Regions from separate parts of the Homo sapiens genome. Here regions 2 and 3 are each linked to region 1. The links are contacts of gene promoters, found by promoter capture Hi-C in blood cells and fetal thymus (Javierre and others, 2016). All regions are on one chromosome and are shown on one strand. The core of a region is centred on a gene start or on the middle of the fragment in contact, and the rest is flanking DNA. Distances in the headings are between cores, read along the strand shown.

Evidence for each region. Contacts are between HindIII fragments. The CHiCAGO score rates a contact against its expected background, and 5 or more counts as called.
Region 2: a contact is called between a fragment that was not itself captured here and the fragment with the promoter of MECOM in region 1, in 1 of 17 cell types (endothelial precursors). The highest score is 7.9, in endothelial precursors.
Region 3: a fragment that was not itself captured here is called in contact with the fragment with the promoter of MECOM in region 1 in 1 of 17 cell types (endothelial precursors); the score reaches 6.1 in endothelial precursors.

Annotation. Positions count from the first base shown.
Region 1 is chr3:169,661,623-169,666,023 of GRCh38, forward strand. It overlaps MECOM (MDS1 and EVI1 complex locus), which reads right to left and starts at 2,090. Exons shown (of 17, transcript NM_004991.4): 1 at 1,714-2,090. The coding sequence starts at 1,750. RefSeq lists a silencer at 982-1,081. The HindIII fragment of the contact is 2,702 bases long and covers 1-2,311 here.
Region 2 is chr3:169,099,677-169,103,679 of GRCh38, forward strand. MECOM (MDS1 and EVI1 complex locus) reads right to left here. Exons shown (of 17, transcript NM_004991.4): 11 at 2,384-2,550; 12 at 1,209-1,286. Among named protein-coding and RNA genes, the nearest start is that of LINC01997, 99 kb to the left of the region's middle. The HindIII fragment of the contact is 809 bases long and covers 1,934-2,742 here.
Region 3 is chr3:169,061,296-169,065,376 of GRCh38, forward strand. It overlaps LOC107986051 (a long non-coding RNA gene), which reads right to left and starts at 2,898. Exons shown (of 3, transcript XR_001740574.2): 1 at 2,820-2,898. The HindIII fragment of the contact is 3,196 bases long and covers 426-3,621 here.

The DNA.
Region 1 (4,401 bases), core at 840-3,339:
GGAAAGGCGCCTGGGATGACAGCATCTCGCGGGGCTACACCGCCGACTCCAATGCCCGCGAAGCCGAGCCTGCTGAGGTGCCGCCGACTTCCCGGGCTGCTGCAGGGACGCAGTGAGCAAGGAGGCGTGGATACGATACCTACCGTATTTGGTTCTAATGTGCGAGGGTCGCGCGGGGGGAGACTGGGATTTCACTGGGGAGAAGCATCCCACCCATCTCCGATCTCTCATTTCTGCGTTCCGTAAACAACACAATTAGAGAGTTTTGTTTTCGGCGAGTGCGAGTGTGGGAGAGAGAACCGCGGCCTGTCCACTCCCGAGGCAGCTCCAGCCCCGCCTATTGACACCTCAAGGAAGAGCGCTCCCAGCCGCTCCGGGGCTCAGTGTCCCTGAGTCCCCTTCAACTCGAAGTAGAAGCATTTGGACAAACGCAGTCCTGTCGTCTACAGTCCTGGCGGAGCATCACACCGTGTGGGAAAGTGTGGGCCCCGCCGGCAAAGCCAGGCGAGTCATCCAACACTTTTGCTGTAAGAGTGGGGGATGGGACTCCCACCGCCCCCTCCCCAAACCCCTTAGCCCACATCCCGCCAGACCAAGGCCGCTCCGCGCCGGGCAGGCAGGGGGCGCCGGGGAGGGTTATTGACCCTGGACCCAGGCTGCACCCAGACGAAGCGCCGGAGGCTGCGCTGCGCCCTCTCCGCGGCCCAACGCTCTGGCAGCCCGCCCCCTGGGGTTTGCTCGGCGCCCAGCAAGCCCGAGGTGCGCGGGTCGCAGCGCGCCCTCTCTGCCTCCTGCTCCTAGGCTGCCGCCGCTGGCTGTGTGCCCTCCACTCCCGGCTCTCCGAGCGCTCGCTGGGCCTCTTCTCTCCCCACGTCCGAGCGCTCGCTGGGCCTCTTTCCTCCCCACCTGCGCGTGGCTGTGCGGAGCCGGTAGCTCTGCTCTGCCCGTGCCCCCGCCCCCACCCCGCGATCACAGCCCCCACCTTGGTGTCCCCTACTCCCCGCCGCAGTCCTCCCGCCGCGCAGCGCCGCGCCGGAGAGCATGGCCGAGCGCACAGCGCCCACTACCGCAGCCGCGGCTCGGCGCAGTCCACCCGCCCGCCCGCGCAACTTCCAGCGGCCGCCTCGCAACTTTTCCCAAGTCCACCACAGCCGCCCGCCGCCGCCGCCACTGTGGCTCCCTCTGAGCCGCCTACCCTACCCAAACCCCAGAAACAAACCGAGGCTCGAAAAGGCTCCCTTCTCCTGCCGGCCCCCCATCCCCCGCGCCCCCCTCCTCCCACACCCGGGACTAGCTGGTTGGCCAGAGGCAACTCTCCCCCGCCTGGGGGGAAGGGGAGGGGAGGGGGAGACTTTCTCCTCTTCTCTTCCCCCCCACCCCACCCCTTCGCGCTCACTCTCGCGCTCTCTCCTCCCTCCCACCCCTAGTCTTTGCTGCCCCCACCCCCACCCCCACCCCGGGGTTGCCACAGCTGGTCGGTGCGCGGGACTGAGGGCTGCCCAGGCTCCTCCGGCGCCCAACCCGGGAGCGAGAGCGCGGGCGACCGGGAGCAGAGACTGGAACCGGCAGGTTGCTGGGGCTGCGCTCCGCCTGCCCTCCACCCGGGGCCCCGGCGCAAGAGGCAGCCCGCGCTCCCTCCCGGAGCGCTAGAGACAGATATGCAAGATGGCAGAGGAGGGGGAAAAGCCAATAGAAAAGGGATATTGCACCTACTTGTGGCCAGTTTCCTTGCCCTGCCTTTGGATCTCATGCTGTGCCCAGTCCTGCAGCCGCTGGTGTGTGGTTGGGGCTTTTTTTTCTTGGATCCTTTCCTTCTTTTGCTCTCCCTCTCGCTCCCTCCCTCTCTCTCCTGTCTCTCTCTCTCTCTCTCTCTCTCTCTCTCTCTCTCTCTCTCTCTCTCTCTCTCTCCCTCCCTCCTGTTTCTCTCCTGTTTCTCTCTCTCTTCCACACACTCACTCTCTGTATTTTCTTCTTTCACTCTCTCTCCCTCCCTCTCTCCCTTTCTCTCAATCCACACTCGCTATCTCTCCAGCATTGTCAGTTTGGACACCTTCGCACATGCGCGCTAGACGCCCCTCCAACATCTCAGCGCCGCCAAAAAAAGTTTGGAGCGATTTATCACTTTGATTTGGAGATCTTGTCAGATGGCAATCGCCGAGGAGGCGGAGAAAGGGAGCCGCGGGGAGGGCGGCGGGGGGCGGGGAGCGAACGCAGGGAGCCAGAGGGGAGCAGACACCTCGCCCAAAAAAAGGGGAGGGGGGAATTGAAAAGGCTTGGGCAGAGGATTGATTCCATGTTAGAATCGCCAACAAGCTTGTATCATGATTATTGTTATTGTTTTTCCCACCATAAATTGCAGACATTTTTCTATACCATCTACGAGGGAAGCAAGAAGCCAGGGGGGAAAAAAACTTTAAAAACATTTTTTAAAAACCCTTCTCCTGTTAAAGAACTAGAAGGGCTGGACCCTCGGCTAATAATCCAGGAGAAAGTGAGAATCATCCTGAACTTGAGAAATCTACTGCTGCCGCTGCTACTGCTACTGAAGCTATTGCAGCTTCCGCTTTCAGGGTTGTAAGCAGAATAAATAACTGGTTTTTTCCTCGATTTTAGCTGTAATACCAATGCTTGCTGCCATCCTTGGGACATTTCAGTATTCTTTCCCTACCAAGTAGTAATGATCACCCTTGATTCCCGGGTCCGGGCCGGCGCTGGCATTTGACATCCAAAGACCTCCTGCTTTCTCAGAGGTCGGCTGTCACCTTCCGGCCTCCCCCACTGCTGCCCCGGTCGCCTCCCGATGCAGCTCTGCTTGCCTGCCATTTTCACTCACTCGCTTAAACCTACAACCTCGGGGTCAAAAGAAAGAGGAGTAGGGAGGAAAATCACACACTCTTAAAAAAATACATTGTTGAAATTTCCTTTAATTACAGGATTTACCAATGAAGTGCCACTCAGAAATGGGAATTCCTAAAGGGGCTAGCTGTGTACAAGGTATGAATCAATCCCAACTAGGTATAGATTTTCTTTTGGTACAACCTTCTTGCATTAAACAGTTTTGTTCAATACCTTCCATGTGCTATTTATGTCCCCATTAATATCTGTTGCAAATCCTGCCAGACACCATAAAAGAAAATTACAATCTTTTCAGTCTCCGTGCTGCAACAATACATCCTTGATGTTCAAGTTAAAGGAAAAGAAAAGCAGGTCCTGGGCATGAGTTTGGCAAAGGCTGTGGAGGGAAAGGGGAATCATTGAGAATGCCCAGTCGTACCTGTTGGTATTTATTATCAAATCTAGGACTGCAGACATGAGAGAGCAAATAACAAGGTTCAACCCCAAAGGGTATCAATGGCCTGCAAATCTCTTTATTCAAGAGAATCAAAGTTCAAAGAATTTGTCCTTGTTAAGGATGCCTACCATTTTCCTTTATCCAGAGCTGTGTAATTCTGGGGGCATTTGGCTGTAAGATAGAGGTCCCTGGAGAACCAAGCTACAGGTCTCAAGGGAGACAGATGTATAAGGTTGAAATGTGAGGAAGGGAAGTAGGAAGGTAAAGGAGGGAATTACTCACAACAGGAGTAAAACAACTTCCAAAAGAGAAGGCTCTAGTGCCCACACGCGTGGGCACAAGAGAACTCTATTATCCACTCTGAATTAAAGAGGCACCTGGGTTTTTTTCCAGACCTAGAATTCCCGCTGTCCTGTGCATAAAGGTGAGTGTGCTAACACATTTGGTGTGTGCAAAAGCACCAGCCATTCCAACATTCTGTTAGGTTCACACAGGTCTTTGACTCTGAAACTTCCCCCAAAATGTGACTCCACCAGCTTCCCTCAGTTTAGATGGAGAGGTGCCTACCCTCTGACCAGCAAATGTCCTCCGAGGAAACGGAGAAATGGGTCTTGAGAGGCTTTGGAAGGGGGGACAAAATCTCTAGGGAGAGACAAACACTAGGCTGACTGGCAAGAAGTTCATAAGGCTGCTTCTGATCGGTGTAAGAGACTCTCTAGGGACCATCCCCTAGGCCAGGGGACAGACCAGCAGCACCTGAAGATCCCAGCTGTCAAAATCTAGGTCTTGTCCCTCCAATCCTCACCTTCCCTGCCAGGCACCCCAGGGGTGGCTGAGCACCTTGCCTTGGTGCCCAACCGCCAAGGTAGCTTAAAAAAAAAAAAGAAAGAGAAGAAAAGAAAAAAGAAAAGAACCGCCATCCTCCCCTCCACTCCTCCGGCTAATCCCTTTCACCTCATCCCCAGGGGGTCTGTCTATGTCTAGGTTCCCTTGGAGACGGGAGGTTAAGAGGGGTGCAAGAAATGTTCCTAGGAAAGGAGGGGACCAAGGTACCAAACTCTGAGATTAAATGCAAGACCCACATGTGAAGCTGAGCTTGCTGTTGCTGC
Region 2 (4,003 bases), core at 1,088-3,587, 560 kb before region 1:
AAAAAATAATTTTGCATACATGCAATGTATAAGAATTTCAAAGGAGAATGACATTATGATATTACTTAAGTTGTATAATATTCATTCTTTGAAGAAATATTTACGAGTAACTAATACTGTGTGCAAGGCATTGAACATTAAATAATGTAGTTTATATTTTAAAATTGGAAAGAGTAATGTTGTCTATTTTCAATCTAATCTTTCTAAACAATATTAAAATTAGATGTGTCCAATGTGTCATATGACTAATTTTGGCATGTAATAGAATAAACTAAGAGGTAATTTAGGAAATTATTGATAAAATTGCCCGTTTTTCTATAATATACTCTATTTTATCTGTCCTACCTCTAGTTTCATATTTTCTTCTCCCCTGACTTCCCAGGTTTAAGATCTATTCTTTTTTTCTTTCTTTCTTTCTTTCTTTCTTTTTTTTTTTTTTTTTGACAGAGTCTCACTCTGTCACCCAGGCTGGAGTGCAGTGGTGCAATCTTGGCTCACTGCAACCTCCACCTCCCAGGTGCAGTGGATTCTCCTGCCTCAGTCTCACAAGTAGCTGGGACTACAGGTGTGAGCCACCACACCTGGCTAATTTTTGTATTTTTGGTAGACACAGGGTTTCACCATGTTAGCCAGGCTGATCTCAAACTCCTGACCTCAAGGGATCCACCTGCCTCTGCCTCCCAAAGTGTCGGGATTACAAGCGTCAGCCACCATGCCCAGCCTAAAATCTATCCTTTAAACCTCCTATTGGAATCCATGGAAAATGACTTAGCTGTGCTGGGGGAAAAAAAGTACATATGGGTTATTAACTCCTAGCAGAGATTTGAGGCTTGGAAAAGGAAGGCTGCAAAGTTATGATTTTTGTCAATTAAGATCATCCTAATTATTGAGAAAAGAGAACAAATGATAATAAAAAATAATATTTAAAATGGCTAGCATTTCTTAAGTACTTATTCTGTCCTAGACACTGTGCTAGAACTTTTAAACTGAGAGGTAGGAAGCCTTGATTAAAGAAACTGGAACTCTTCTAATTTTGATCCTAGCCATTAGTCAATTCTTTCTTGACTCAAAATTGAATAGACATATATTCAGACACGCATAAAATTTAAACTTTAATTATTATAAACTTTAATTATTATTTTATTATTAAAATAAACTTTAATTATTACAATATTTATCAAGATATTTAGCAAATATCATTGTCAGACCTGTAAGGCTGCTCTCCTGTGTGGGTTCTCAAGTGCCGTGTTAGGTTTGCAGACCTTGGAAAAATCTTGCCACAGTATCTGTTATGAAAAGATGTTTATAAGAGAAAGTCAGCACAGTTGACTATATTTCACTCATGCCACACAGCAGCCAGATGCTTATTCCTGATTCAATTAATCTTGCATGGAACTCACATTTCTTTGGTATTTAAAATTTACAACAAAGCCATTTCACAGATATTAATATAAATAACTCTACAAATAAAGACTGCATTCTAAGATCTGGTTGAATTTGTTCACTTATAAGCAAGCAATTTATGAAAATAGACTTTAGTTTTGATTACTCCTATACATCTCTCTTATTAACTCAATATTTTTACATTCACAAAATTGAACCAGATAAGGGGATAAAAATATGATAAGAGTTTCTGATTCTGGGTTGATGTAAACAGATTTCAAATGTTTCAACTCATTTTACATGTCAGCCACAGTGATAACTCCCTATGCATAGAGTGGTATCAGATCAGACAAAATCCTGAGACTTCATCCATCAAGGTATGTACCCATAAAAGCTTTATTTCTGGAAAGAAAGTGACATATTTTTCAAAGAGAAGATAAAGTGATATGCCTGAGTCAAATACCTACACATTTCTAAAGATGATTCAGAAATTATAAGCACAATTTATTTAGCAAAAAAAAATCACACACAAAACCAGAAACATAAAATAAGCTTTACTACTGATGAGTAACAAAAAATTTACTAGCTAGTTTTATTCACTTATGGACCTTACTTCTCTTTAATTAATGGCCTTATTCTTTAATGCCATGACAATTAATAAATATATGCTTGAGGACAGTAGTAGTATACCTTTAGATGAAAATAATTAATTGTGAAAGAAAATTCATAAATATCAAAGTGAGACAAGTAGATAGTATTTGGATTGTTTCCAACCTCATTTATCACAACCAAATGTCCTGTGTTAAAATTCACATTTAATAATTTTTTAAAAACACTATTTTTATATTTCACTAAATGAAGAACACTTTGAAGTGCTGGAGATCTATTATGGTGGCTATTAATCATCTAATCAGGAATAATTTCCAAAACAAACAGCAAGACCTTTTGAAATCAGAGGGGAGATTTCTGGAAAGTCAGCCATAATTAACTGTGCAGTTACCTGCAGGTATAGCGCTCCTTTCCCTTCCGCAGAAGGTTCTCTGGCAGGGCATTGGGAGGCGCCCTGAAGTTGAACATAGAGGGCACTGACTGTAAGAGCTCACTGGCCTCAGGTTTCAGGGCACTGAAGCTCTCTAGCTTTTCTGCCATGTTTTCAATAGCTGACATCTGAAAGGTAAAAGCACAAGACCATGAAGCGTTTGGCATCTTGTCTTCTATAATAATCTCTGGCAAACCAAGGACATCATTAAAAGGGAAGCATGAAATCTGCGACGGGTTGTAGAAAGAGACTGTAGTATCCCAATATTAAATAAACAACAACAGAATTGATTTATTTGGGAAATACCATAAGTAGAACCAAGCTTATAAAATGCTGAGCGAACTTTTTCCATAAGACCTTGGTTAGGCCATTTTATCATAATCTGATATATAATTGAACATTGAAATACATAAGAGAGCCAATAAAGCCAAGTTAACTTTTTATTTGATTAAATGACAGCATTAGTATCATGGTATGGATATTAACATAACGGAAATTATAGGAAAAGTTGCTATATGCCTTACCTAGGCAATGAAAACCGTAAGAACCATGCAGTCCCAAGAAAAGAACTGAAAGCATGGGAGAACATGAAGTATTACAGAATTACAGCTTAAGCCAAATATGGGTAACTCAGAAAGAAAAAACTAAATGTATAGGAGGGTATTGCCTAAGACTACATTAAATTAACATCTGGATATGCCATATTTTTATGTAGGATCATATACAAAGAATTTTGATTAAATATTAATTTTATCAAAGACAAAGACTAAGTTGAAATGACAGTTCATCATATGTTAATATAATTTCATATAACATAACTTGGCATGTGCCTTGTAAGACAGGGGGAGCAGTTTATGTAACCACACTTTTCGAGAAACATTCTTGAAAGAAAACTATCCCTGCCTAATTCTTCCCCTCTAGTAATCTAATTTTTGTTGTTTATAATCTTCAAGTTTTTGTACACCTGCACACTTATTTGAGAGTCACAAGCAGAAGATGGCATTTACTTTTAAAGTTGGCTTGATCCCTGTTTTTTAAAAACTTTTTGTAGAGATGGAGTCTCACTATGTTGCTCAGGCTGGTCTTGAACTCCTGGTCTCAAGCAATCCTTCCACCTGCTTCGGTCTCCCAAAGTGCTGGGATTATAGGCATAAGCTACTGTGCCCAGTCTTAGCTTGATTCTTAAGCTCCACAGCCAGAGGGACTCTCCCCTTTCCTTTGACCCTCTCAACATGTTGTGTTTCCTCAGGGCTCACATTTTATTTGGAAGCTGCTTATTACTGAATTTTTAAGTAGAAAAACAAACTTTCAGGCCATCCTGTTAAATCAACTCACCCATTATTTATTTGATTCTCAGGGCAGTGTGCCATTAGAAAGCTCAAGAAGCTATTTTAAAAGGTGTTTGCATTCTATATGCATTACATAAAAATCTCAAAGAGCTGTGATGCTAGACCAGAAGACACATAAGAACTGAGATGATCACTGCAAATTCAAACAACTGGTCAACCCAAGAAACTATCCTTTTGCTAATGAGACAGCAGGACAGAGATGGAGGCCTAATTTATGAGCTCAAGTTAAAAA
Region 3 (4,081 bases), core at 774-3,273, 600 kb before region 1:
GGTTAGTATACATTCTAACCTGGACTAATGAACAGCATGATGGCTCTTGTTAATAATACTGTATTGTTTACTTGAAATGTCTTAAGAGAGATCTTAGCATCTCACCAAAATAAAATTTCAAAAGTAACTATGTGAGATGCTGGATGTGTTAATTAACTTGATTGTGGTAATCATTTCATAATATACACACATATCAAATCATCACATTGTGTACTTCATATATATACAATTTTACTTGTTAGTTGTAGCTTGATAAAGCTGGAAGAGTAGAAGAAGAAAAAAGAATGAATGACCTAGTCAGCTGATGTTAGCCAGACTGCTCATCAGCAGCCCCAGTACTTGCACAATAGATGCATGAATGGTGTAGCCTGATGAAGGAATGGACAATCTGCATGGGACCAAAAGCCTGAGCTCTCCCTCACTGAAGCTTATCTAGCTATTTCCACTGTCAAATGTCCAGCTTGTGAGGAATAGAGTCCAACTTGTGTGCTCTTTATAGTATTGTATCTCAAGGACATCCATTTTAGTGGCAAGTTGACAATATTGGACCCCTTCTTCCTCGAAAGGGGCAGCAACTCATCTTATACATGCATTCTAAGTATGGACTTGCATTTCTTGCTTGCAGGACCTCACCCACCATCATTAGCTGAGAGTGCACAGAGTTTGATTACCAACACAGGATCCCACATAACATCACATTGGACCAAGGAACACTCTAGACTAAAGAAAGTGTGGTAGTGGACACAGGGCCATGGGAGCCATTGGTTATATCACATACTGCTCCACCAAACTGGCCTGATAGAATAATGGAATAGTGCAATTACAGCCAGCTTGGAGATGATAGACCGTGAAGATAAGACCCTATCCTTCATAAAGTAGGATACTTCATGATGCAGTTATATAACCTAAACCAATGACCATTATATGGTTCTCTGTCTTTAATATTTAGAATACCTGGGTCCAAGACCCAAGGAAAGAAAACAGGAGTGGTCTTACTGCCATTACTTTTATTGACTTGGGGAATTTGTGCTTCCCATACCTGCAAGTTTAGGGACTATAATACCTAAAGGGAAGTGCTTTCAGAAGGAGACATTATACTAAGCCTTGAGCTGCAGTTGCTGCCTGATCACTTTGGTCTCTGCATGTCAGGACACCAAGAGCAAAGAAAGAAATTACTATGCTAGCAGGGATAATTAACCTTGATCATCACGAGTAGAGAGAGTTGCTGTCATACACTGGGGTCAGGAAGGAATATGTTCAGTACTCATGTGATCCACCTGGGTGTCTCTTGATACTCCCTTGCCAATTTTGATGGTAAATGAAGAAATGAAGTGACCACAGACTAACAAAGGTATGGTGACAATGAGATCAGACCTCTTGGCAATGAGATTCTGGATCATCGCCATAAGATAAGTCATCTAAACCTTCATGTGCCAACCAAGGGAATTTAAAATGACAGAGATGGGAGAGAATGAGTATCAGTTGCAGACTCAAGACCAACTACAGTAGCAGTGTCTGATGTTTATACCACTAACACTCTTCTTTTAAGTTTCCTCAGCAAAAGACATCCAACAGAACTGTGAAGGAGTTGCTCCTAGGAAGTGGATCCAAGAAATGCCAAGAATGGTCTCTTCTTTTTTTCTTTTTTTTTTTTTTCTGAGACTGGGTCTCACTTTGTCACCAGGCTGGAGTGCAGTAGCCTGATCTTAGCTCACTGAAGCCTCGACCTCCTGGGCTCAAGCAATCCTCCCACGTTAGCCCCCAAGTAACTGGGACTACAGACACACACCACCACTCCTGGCTAATTTTTTTTTTTTTTTTTGTAAAGACAAGGTTCTGCCATGTTGCCCAGGCTGGTTTCGAACTCCTGAGCTCAAGCAATCAGCCCACCTTGGCCTCCCAGTGTGTTAGGATTACAGGCATGAGCCACCACTCCCAGCAAGAATAGTCTCTATTGAATACCGTAGTGTGCTATCCATATGTCTCTACTTCGGTACTCGTCAGTCCTTCAAAGACATCCAAGACCATGCTTCCTCTGCAGCACCACTCCTTATCCAACGACCAGTAGATGCTGGAATTAAAGAACCAGACCCCTCGCCATGATTTGCGACAACTCTAAAGGCCTTCCCAGCTCCCGAGCTCTCCAGAAGACAGGCTGAGGTTTTTATTGTGACTGCATCATAGTTCAATTTCTTTCACTTCCACAGGTGTTAATTCCAAAAACAATCCCCAATAAACTTCCTGCATATAAGTCTCCATTTCTAAGTCTCTTTTTCGGGAATACCTGCCTACACCGCAAAATTAGTTATGATGATGATTATTATTATTTTTATTAGGCACTTAGCATATTAATTTAATTCTACTTCCCCCAAACAAAACCGTAAGGTTACTATTAAAGTAAACCCATTACAGCCAAGGAAATTGAGACTTAGAAACATTAAATACCTTACCTATTGTCACACAGGCTATAACTGGTGGAGACAGGATTTGAGCGAGGTCAGCCAATTTCTCAAGCCTGTGAGGTTTTATGAGTGATCAAGTATCGCTGTCAGAAGCAATAGCATGAACAAAGATATGTATCTTTGAGCTTGGGGGAATGAGAAAAGTTAGGGAGAGATAAGTCTTAGAAAGACAGAAGAGTTCAAATTGGAATAAACCAAGAATGCCACAGTCAATACGGATTTACCCAAAAATTGAACCAGTTCTGTAGAATTCTCCATTATTCTCATCCTAAAGAAGGAAAAACAGTATGGCTTATTGACAAGGATAAAGCTAATAGAAAAGTTACACTTGCACCCTTAATTCTGTTATATCCTTACCAGGTATGAGAAATGGCATGGGTAGAAGGAGAAGTGGATGGCAATAGCACAGAAAGAAATCCAAAACCCTCTCCTCAGGGATTATGAGGTGAAGGTGCCAGTCGTGGAATGCTGCACTCTTATTCTCCTGTGTTTATTCAGCCCTGGGGCTGAGGTTTGCCTTGGAGTTGTAACCTTTATAAGGGGTTTGCTTAATGACAGAATTATTCAACTGCATACCTCACCCCAATTAGAAAAAGGCTGTTTGGATTCTAATTGACCTTGACACAAGTCTGCTTAAAGAGATTCCCCAAGAATTATAGAGCTACTTTCAGAGTTTGACTTGGCCAGGAATATGAAATGTAACACGGTTTTTTGAATTTTCTGCAGTTACTATGAAACGACCAAGCCACAGGTATCAAACATGCTTTGTTTTTGTGTTATAATCACATTACAAATTGAACATTTCCACATGTGCAAGTTGGCAAATCTGAAATGAATGATTATGAAGATTATAATTACATATATCAGGTATATATGGCCAACATATTTTCACTCACACAAAAGCGTATTTTCCCTACTCCCTAGACATCCATGTATAGTGTGTTTATAGGATGTAAAACCATCATCCTATATATAAACCAAAAATGTATTTTTAAACAGTTATTGCCAGGTCAGGTGATAAGTCGACATAATATTTGGAAGGTGTAAATACCAGGAAGGGATAGAGATTCCTAAGCTAACCATGAGGAAATGACTAACAATAATAGGTTGAAATCAAGAAGAACATAATTTGGACTGAATATCAGGAGGAGAGAAAATAAGCTTCCTGGCTACAATAACTGTTAGGCTCTGAAATAATTCTTAAGGGAAGTAGAGCTCTCTTCCTTACCCAGGACTTTGGAAATGAGGCATGCATTCTTGGAGTCCCTTCTAACAAGCAGTTTTGCTTGGGGAGAGGAAGGAGATCTTTTCCATTTCTGTTTTCAGAGACTTGATATTAAGAAAAAAAATCTCAGAAATCTTTATGTAATTTCCCTTTAAATGTTCACCAAACCACCTTTGAGCATGATCCTGCATTTACCTTGTAGTGAACATTATGTCTCCTGTTCCTTCACAGCCAAGAAAAATCCATCCCATGGTCACACAGTTTGCAGCAACCAGGAATTATTTTCAGCTTAATCCTGAAGACCACTTGGTGGTCTTTCACTCGTCTGAGTACCTCTCCCAAGCACTGCAATAAGGAGTTCTCTAAGAATTGCAGCTAACTGCTTTAGTCAGGC